Regions from separate parts of the Homo sapiens genome. Here regions 1 and 2 are each linked to region 3. Evidence: promoter capture Hi-C in 16 types of primary human blood cells and fetal thymus (Javierre and others, 2016). All regions are on one chromosome and are shown on one strand. The core of a region is centred on a gene start or on the middle of the fragment in contact, and the rest is flanking DNA. Distances in the headings are between cores, read along the strand shown. Region 1 overlaps FGGY (FGGY carbohydrate kinase domain containing). Region 2 overlaps FGGY (FGGY carbohydrate kinase domain containing). Region 3 holds the start of MYSM1 (Myb like, SWIRM and MPN domains 1).

Region 1 (2,700 bases), core at 56-2,555, 710 kb after region 3:
ATCTCACTAGTAAACATCGAATGAGCATAAAATAAGATTTTTTTTTAGAGATGGATGGGGAAGGTGTGAGTCTATAAGTCCAGGCTAACCTGTCCCATGGAATGTTAGATACCTACTCAGGAAGGTAACTTGTATGAACCTCCCACCTTTAGCCTACCCCCCAGTCGACCTTAGTCATTTGCCCCACTTGGTTGGTTGGCTAGAGGAGTGGTAGAAATTTGGTGTGGGAAACACTTTGAGACTGCTCCTCATGTCACACAGTGAGGATGACCTGCTCTGCTCTCTGGTGCTATGTTACGATGATCTCCCGTTAGGCTAAATTATTCTACTTCTTAGTGCTTTTTCCCCTAGCTTTTTTTTTTTTCTTTTTGAAATCTGATATTTAGAGTCCTCTTCCCCACTTAATTGCAAGCTCAATGAAGAAAAACTAGAGAACAATAAGATAGAAAAGAAGACAAAAATGTAGTGAAACAAAAAGCATTCTATCTCCTATTTTCCAGGAACAAATGTTTTTTAAAAAGCTTTTTTAAGCCTGTTAATAGACAGTTGATTCTTCATTATTTGCAGATTCTTTGTTTGCAAATTTGCCTACTTACTAAATCTTATTTGTAACCCTCAAATCAATACTTGTGGCACTTTCACAGTCATTCGCAGAAATGCTCAGAGAGGAGGATAATTTCTGAGTCTCTCGTCATGCGTGTTCCTAGCCGATGGCAAATAACACAACACCCTGCCTTCTTGTTTCAGCTCTCATAGTGTAAACAAGTGTCCTTTTCGAAGTCTACTCGTGCCATGTTTTTCTCATTTTTGTGCTTTTTGTTGGCGATTTCACCATTTAAAATGCACCCCAAGCATTGTGCAAAAGTACTGTGTAGTGTTCAAGTACAGTGCAAGAAAGCTGCGATGTGCCTTACAGAGACAATAACGTGTGTTTGATAAGCTTCATTCAGGCAGGAGTTAAGTGCTGTTGGCTGTAAGTTCAGTGTTATTGACTCAACAATATATATTAAATGAGTTGTTTTTAAGCAAGAATACACATGAAACAGGGTTGCGTATTGATGAGTTGGCAAAAATATAACTGGAGGCTCAGAGGAACCTAGCCCTGTATTTCCCTTAGGAACAATGGTCCAGTGTTCCCTAATTTAATGTTTTTGGAGACTACCAAAAATAATAAGGTCAGCCATGTATCTTTCTCCTTTTCTCCTTGCTCTTGCTTGATCTTTCCATCTCTTGTTACCTCAATCTGTGTGTATATGATATGCATATATTTACTTAAATTATATATGCATATATTTAGCAATTATGATATCACATGATACACGATTCTGCAACCTGTCTTTTAACTTATCAATTGTGTTGGCCTTTGGGCTGTTTGCACTGAGATCCATTTGTCACCCTTGCCCTGCTCTGCAAGGGTGCTGTGTTACAGGGGGTTGACCCCTGCCCCCTGACAATTTGTCATCAGTGGGAGATGGCAAGGCAAGAGAAAGAGAAGCTGGAGTATTTGTCCCTCCCTCTGTCTGCCTTGGGCAGCATCTCTGGCAGTGGCCCCTCTACAGCTATCCCACCTGCAGGTTGGGTCCTCCATGGCTCTGTCATCGGCTGGTTGGTCCTGGGTCTCGAGCTTTAGCCCTGCCTTCTTCCTTTGTCCTTTTAGCTGATGGGTGGAAGAAGCTTCCTGCTGATGCTGATCTCTGAGTTTCTTCCCTGTCCCCTGGGTAGAGCATCAGATTTAAAAGCCAAGGCAAGACAAAAAATGAGAGAATGGTAGCAAAGATCCAACACTTTACAAGACCGCCTGAGAAAAGGGAGGAGGGGGTGGTTCGACACCAGGGCCTGCACACTGAGTGTGTGATGTTGCAGCTCTGCAGGCACAGATTAAGCAGCTAAGATGCCATCAATGCTTGGAAAGCAGCCGGTGCCTCTTGTCCTGAGCTTATTTGTCTGGAATATGATTCCCTTGAACCTGACTAGCTCATCCACGGGGAGAGAGAAAAAAAAATATTCTGATAGTTATCCTGACCAGGCTCTAACAGGGCCTCCTTCCCTAGGATATAATTTTTTCTGGCCTCTTTCCATTCACTTCTTCACATTAGGACCCTTTTCCCCCAGAGTGTGAGATTCCCTGAGGGCTCTAAAAACTGGAATGCTATACAGCATTTTAAGCCCCCTGTGTTGGCACAGTCCTTATTAAAAATGTATTTTCCTCAAGCCATGGCTGCACCCCCTGAAGTGTGGATTAACAGAAAGGCCTTCAGAGCTGGAAGACATTTTTGAAGAACCGCTGTACCAAGTGGCATTAAATATTTATTGCCTACTACATGTAAATTGTTCATCATCTTGTTTTAACTCTTGGACCAAAAGGTTTCTCATCTGCTTTCTGCTAAAGTGGAAATCACAGGAAAGGTACTCTTTACTTTGCTGTGGTATTTTGTTTTCCCAGGAATACGGAATATTTCTTTGTTCTCATAAGTAATACTAGAAAAGATTGCCTTGACTCTCAGCATTTCATTGGGAGGCCATGTGGTGTCATGATGGAGAAAAACTCGAATTCTGGGGCAAGTGCATTGGGCTTTGCCACCTGCAAGCTGTGTTGGCTTGAGAACCTGATACCATTTATGTTTGTTGTGCTGGAAAAATGGGACATTGCATAAATAGCAGATAGCACAATTCCTGGCACCCAGTAAGTTCTCTCTTTCT
Region 2 (2,700 bases), core at 177-2,676, 620 kb after region 3:
TTGCAGATCCACTTGGTCTTCATATGGTTTTTACACTTGCTTACTATAGGTGGAGGAACTGCAATGTCTGGTGGAGAACAGAAACCAGAGAGGTACTATGTGGGTGTGGACGTTGGAACAGGCAGTGTCCGTGCAGCTCTGGTGGACCAGAGTGGGGTCCTGTTGGCTTTTGCAGACCAGCCAATTAAGAATTGGGAGCCCCAGTTCAACCACCATGAGCAGTCCTCCGAGGACATCTGGGCTGCGTGCTGTGTTGTCACAAAGGTATGGGCAAAACTGGTGTTCTCTCCTTGTTCATATTCCTACCTGCTGAGTGTCGTGTGTCAATCTGGTGCCGTAAACAATGTTGGGGTAACTTTAGATGCAGAGGTAAGCAAGACATAGGCCTTGCCCTTCAGGAGCTCACAGTCTACTGGCAGAGACTGATAAACAGCTAATATATGGTAAGAGCTGGGATCAAAGTAACTATAGCTGGAGCTGGGGAAAGAGCTAACCGGAGGGGGCTCAGGGAAGACAGGACAGCTTGAGGTGTGACCACATGTGGAAGAATTCACTGATCACCTTATTAACATTTACCACGCCTTTAATGTGTGCCAAAGGCTGTGTAAAATGTGTTAACTTGCACTGTGTAGTTGCATCTTCACATGACCCTATAAAGGTAATACTGTCACTACCCCTATTTTATTGAGGGAGAAATGTAGGCACAGAAAAGTTAGGTAACTTACTCAAGTTCACACAGTAAGTAGCAGAGGCAGGACTAGAACAAAGCAGTCTGACTCCAGAGGTGCGCTCTTTTTTTTTTTTTTTTTTAATTAAAAAAAGTTCAATGGGTTTTTGGGGAACAGGTGGTGTTTGGTTACGTAAGTTCTTTAGTGGTGATTTCTGAGATTTTGGTGCACTCATCACCCAAGCAGTGTACACTGTACCCAATGTGTAGTCTTTTATTCCTCACCACCCCCCAGCGCTTTCCTCCGAGTTCCCAAAGTCCAATTGTATCATTCCTATACCTTTGCCTCCGAGGTGCACTCTTAACCATTGGACTCTGCTGCCTTCCAAGTGGACAAATGAGGATGAGAGGAACTGCATTTTGGGCAGAGGGAATAGCATATGCAAAGGCATGGTGGCACGAAAACATGGTGTGTTCTGATAAAGCAAAGGAGTCAGATTAGAGTGTCTCCCATATATGCCAGGCATATGTTCACCCTGAGTGGCCTTGGATTGGATGCAGCCTGCTGGCTTGGGAAGGAAAGCAATGCTTCACAATTCTTGTTTGTTTTTAAAGTTTCACTTGACTGTTTGATTTTATGTCTTGGTGATCAGTAATGACAGAGGTCCTTTTGTCTTTTTTTCCATGGGGAAAAATAAAGTCCTGGATTCCTTCTTTTCCCTGTTCCTAGTTTAGTTCCTTAAATATTCATGAGGTGCTTGGTAATTTGCAGATGGACAATTCACCATTCTGTCCCTATTGATCAGTCTGTTTAAACTTTAATGAATTCTGGGCTGCTGTTAGTGCCCCCGGAGAAGAAGGCAGAGAGAGGAGGGAGTGGGTAGGCAGTACCAGAGCATTATACAGGAATAAAAGAGGGATGCATCTTCTCTTTTGCCCATTTAATTTTCCTCTCCTCTCCCCTCCTTTCAGCCCCCAATCTGGTAAGAATCTTCTACTCTTTGCACTTGGGCCTTCTTTCTTCTTTTAACATACAGCCTTGCTTGCCGTTAAGGAAATTATCAAGAAGAAAATATAATCCCCTGATGAAAAGCTACTTTAAAAAAGGTCTACTCTAAGTACAGCTGGTTTAATGGTAGATTTTTAATCATCTCCCAGTGGTGGCCAACTTATCATCTGTTTGAGCCCTGTTAGCTGCATAAGTACCATGGACATCTGTCGATAGCAATGCTATTGCACTATAGCAAACCTAAATGAAGCCCTTGGGTCTTAGGCGATTCTCCTCAGATGGAGTATGGATATGTGGGCATGTGCCAGAAGCCACAGGATAAGCATGTTACATCTATATGGAACATCATTGCTGGTGTGAGGCTTAGGGAGGGAAGCATTTTTATGTTAGAGAGATAATAACACCATAGGAATGAGAGAGGTAGGTGACCTGTTATAGAGCACAGATTCTGCAGCCAGACTGCCTAGATTGACATCCCACTTACAACGTTTATTAGGTTGTGATCTTGGACAAGTTACCTAATGTTTCTTGCTTCAGTTTCCTTATCTGTAAAATGGAAATGACATTAGTACCTACTTCCATAGGATTGTTGTGAGGATTAAATGAATTAATGCACATAGGATGTCATAACATTGCCTAGAAATGTGTATGGGTTGTTTCCTATGGTGGTGCTGATGGTGACAGAAAATGAGCAGATTATAGAAGATAGTGAATTTCTAAGACAAAATACTGAAAAGTCAAAGTCTACGGCGGGGGAGGCGCTTCTTGGGAATATTCATTCACTCTCCTGGTTAGGGTTCTTACTGTGTAACACTTTGAGAAACACTGGTCTAGGGCAAAGGGTGGCATCAGATATGTCCTGGTCTGTCTTTTCTTCCTCATGGACTCCAGGAAGTTGAGAGCTTCAGAGCAGTTGTTCTAATTCCTTTTCCCTAAGTCATTCACATTGCCTGAGATGACTTTCCTCTTAGTTAAAGCAACAGTAAGGATAATGTGGTGTCAATGATGATGACAAAGACAGCTA
Region 3 (2,700 bases), core at 123-2,622:
CATTAACTTGTTGCGAAAAGTAAATTAAATCAAACATGCAAAAGCACTTGGTCAAGATTTAAACACTAAATGAATGTCAACAAGTATTGTTATTAAGGGCTCCCTACTCATCTGCAAAGCTTTGAGGGACAATGACCATATGAGTTTAATCACCCCTCACGTCTTTATAGGGCTTTAGAGTTCATGATACACTTCTAAACACACTATCTTAGTGCCTCAAGCGCTGGGTTAGTACTTCTCCCCTGTTCACAGAGGCCCTAATATTAGGCTGAACTACATGAAGTTGCCGCTTTATAGAACAAAAATGGTCTAAATATTGGCAATTTCATATGGTTCAAGCTAATACAGTTCTAAGGAAATTGTACATAATTATAAACAACATAGCTGGCTGACTTTAGAACTCAGGCTTTCTGATTCCTGGCTAGTCTAGGACTCTTCATGACTAAAAGGAGACTCATTTTTGATTCAGAAAGCAAGGAGTCAAAGGAGGTTCTGTGTCAAATCACACTGGGCTGTTTGTTCTGCTGGAACAGGTATTTTAAAAAATGTGATCCCTTACTGGATTCTCACAGTACTGTCCCCGAGGGTAACAGGATGGTAAAGAATACATTCAGAGGGCACCTACCGTATGCTAAAGCATATCTCATAATCATTTCATTTGATCCTCCCAATTACATATCATGACTCCCAGTTTAAATATGAGCAGTCTGAGGCTCAGACAAGTTAAGTGTCTTGCCCAAGGTCACATTGCTATTAACTGGTAGGGCGAGCAAATGCAGAAGGAAAACCCAGAACTGTCCAACTCTAAAACCTGGCCCATTTAAGTCAACCTGCTTCTCGGGAAGTTTTACAACTATCCCCATGTGGAAGAAGGGATGAAACGACTCGCCCAAGGTCACACGGCTAGCAAGCCATAGAACAAGAGTCCCTGACCTCAGGTCTCGTCCGTAGCCGCTCTTGTTCTAGTTACTGTCGATGAGATCCTGAAAAGGAGGGAACGGAAGAAGGAATCTAAATGTAAATCAAACGCAATGTGGTAGGCGAAATCGGTGCCCTCACAGCATCCGGCAAAAGGTGAAAGCGACCCAGGAGTACCTGAGCTCCAGGTAACCGCCCTGCCCGCTGGGCTTGGGACAAGCCGGCGGGCGAGGTGCCTCCCAGGCCAACAAGAGACCCTGGCCCAGGGGACAGTCTTCTGTTCCCTTTTCCCTTGCCGGACCTGCAGCTTTCCCAGGGCCCGCTCCTTCAATCCACTCCCCTCTCCGCCCCAGAGAGACCCGGTCTCTAAGCCTCACCCTGGCTGTGCCCCCGCCGCCGCTACCACGTCCCCTTCGATATCCACATCCGCCTCTTCAGCCGCCATGATGGGACCTGACCCCGTCCGTCCTCCCGAGAGATCCCGCGAGACGAAGATGGCCCGGGGGCAGGGCCTAACGCGTCACGGGGCGGGATTGAAGCGTCGTCCGGCCCCTCCCGTGCCGGGAGGCGGGGTTTCCAGAGCAAAGGCGCCCCCAGAGGCCTGGGGCTTGGTCCTTTCTAACTTGTTGACATGTAGAGACCTTGGGAAGTGGCCCACGCCTGAGCTTTTTTTTTTTGAGAGGGAGTTTCACTCTTGTTGCCCAGGCTTGGGTGCAATGGCGCGTATCTCAGCTCACTGCAACCTCCACCTCCCGGGTTCAAGCGATTCTCCTGCCTCAGCCTCCCAAGTAGCTGGGATTACAGGCATGCGCCACCACGCCCGGCTAATTTTTGTATTTTTAGTAGATACAGGGTTTCACCATGTTGCCCAGCTGGTCTCGAACTCCCGACCTCCCGACCTCAGGTGATCCGCCCGCCTCGGCCTCCCAAAGCTCTGAGATTACAGGCGTGAGCCACCGCGCCCGGGCCCTCCTGAGCTTCTAAGAGCTTCTGTTCTTGCACACATTCTTTGGGACCTCACTGCTCTCACTGATAAAATGGGGATAACAGCAGTATCTTTCTGGACTGATGAAAAAGTCAAGCTAGACCCGCTTTGTGAACTGAAGGTTGCATACCTGCTGGTTATTTAAGTCTCTCTCTTTGTTTTTTAAAGAAAAGGGTCGTGCAGCACTTATGTGAAGTCGTTCAGCATTTCACCTAAGTGCTGAACAACTTTTATTTTAAAATTCAACAAATATTTAAGAATATAACTTATGATTGTGTAATTTATTTTGTAGACGTCTTTGCAATTTAAAAATCACGCTCATGACCATTAATCCTTACAGTGTCCCAGTGAGGTAGGCAGAGCTAATATCACCAGTTATACTTTACAGGTGAGGTAACTGAGGCCTGGAGAGCTGAAATGACTGTCCAAGGACAGGTAGCTTCAAAGACAGAGCCAGGAGTAGAATCCAGGCTTTGTTGACCCTCTACTGAGTGCTCACCATGTAACAATCATGTTGTTAGAAATTGGAGGATAAACACCACTTCTGTCTAGTTTATAGTTTCTCAAGAAATTAGATACTGACAGCCAGATGCGGTGGCTCACACCTGTAATCCCAGCACTTTGGGAGGCCAGGGAGGGCGGATCACAAGGTCAGGAGTTCGAGACCAGCCTGACCAACATGGTGAAACCCCGTTTCTACTAAAAATACAAAAATTAGCTGGGCGTAGTGGTGGGCAACTGTAGTCCCAGCTACTCAGGAGGCTGAGGCACAAGAATCGCTTGAACCCAGGAGGCAG

Evidence for each region. The method cuts DNA at HindIII sites, captures the fragments that hold promoters and counts their contacts. A CHiCAGO score of 5 or more calls a contact.
Region 1: a contact is called between a fragment that was not itself captured here and the fragment with the promoter of MYSM1 in region 3, in 1 of 17 cell types (monocytes). The highest score is 5.0, in monocytes.
Region 2: a contact is called between a fragment that was not itself captured here and the fragment with the promoter of MYSM1 in region 3, in 2 of 17 cell types (naive CD8 T cells and naive B cells). The highest score is 5.5, in naive CD8 T cells.

What each region holds. Positions count from the first base shown.
Region 1 is chr1:59,405,566-59,408,265 of GRCh38, forward strand. All of the region lies in intron 5 of FGGY (FGGY carbohydrate kinase domain containing), which reads left to right. Among named protein-coding and RNA genes, the nearest start is that of FGGY, 110 kb to the left of the region's middle. The HindIII fragment of the contact is 734 bases long and covers 939-1,672 here.
Region 2 is chr1:59,321,487-59,324,186 of GRCh38, forward strand. FGGY (FGGY carbohydrate kinase domain containing) reads left to right here. Exons shown (of 16, transcript NM_018291.5): 2 at 50-264. The coding sequence starts at 64. Among named protein-coding and RNA genes, the nearest start is that of FGGY, 26 kb to the left of the region's middle. The HindIII fragment of the contact is 4,306 bases long and covers 1-2,700 here.
Region 3 is chr1:58,698,690-58,701,389 of GRCh38, forward strand. It overlaps MYSM1 (Myb like, SWIRM and MPN domains 1), which reads right to left and starts at 1,373. Exons shown (of 20, transcript NM_001085487.3): 1 at 1,296-1,373. The coding sequence starts at 1,363. RefSeq lists enhancers at 868-927, 1,138-1,547. The HindIII fragment of the contact is 3,791 bases long and covers 118-2,700 here.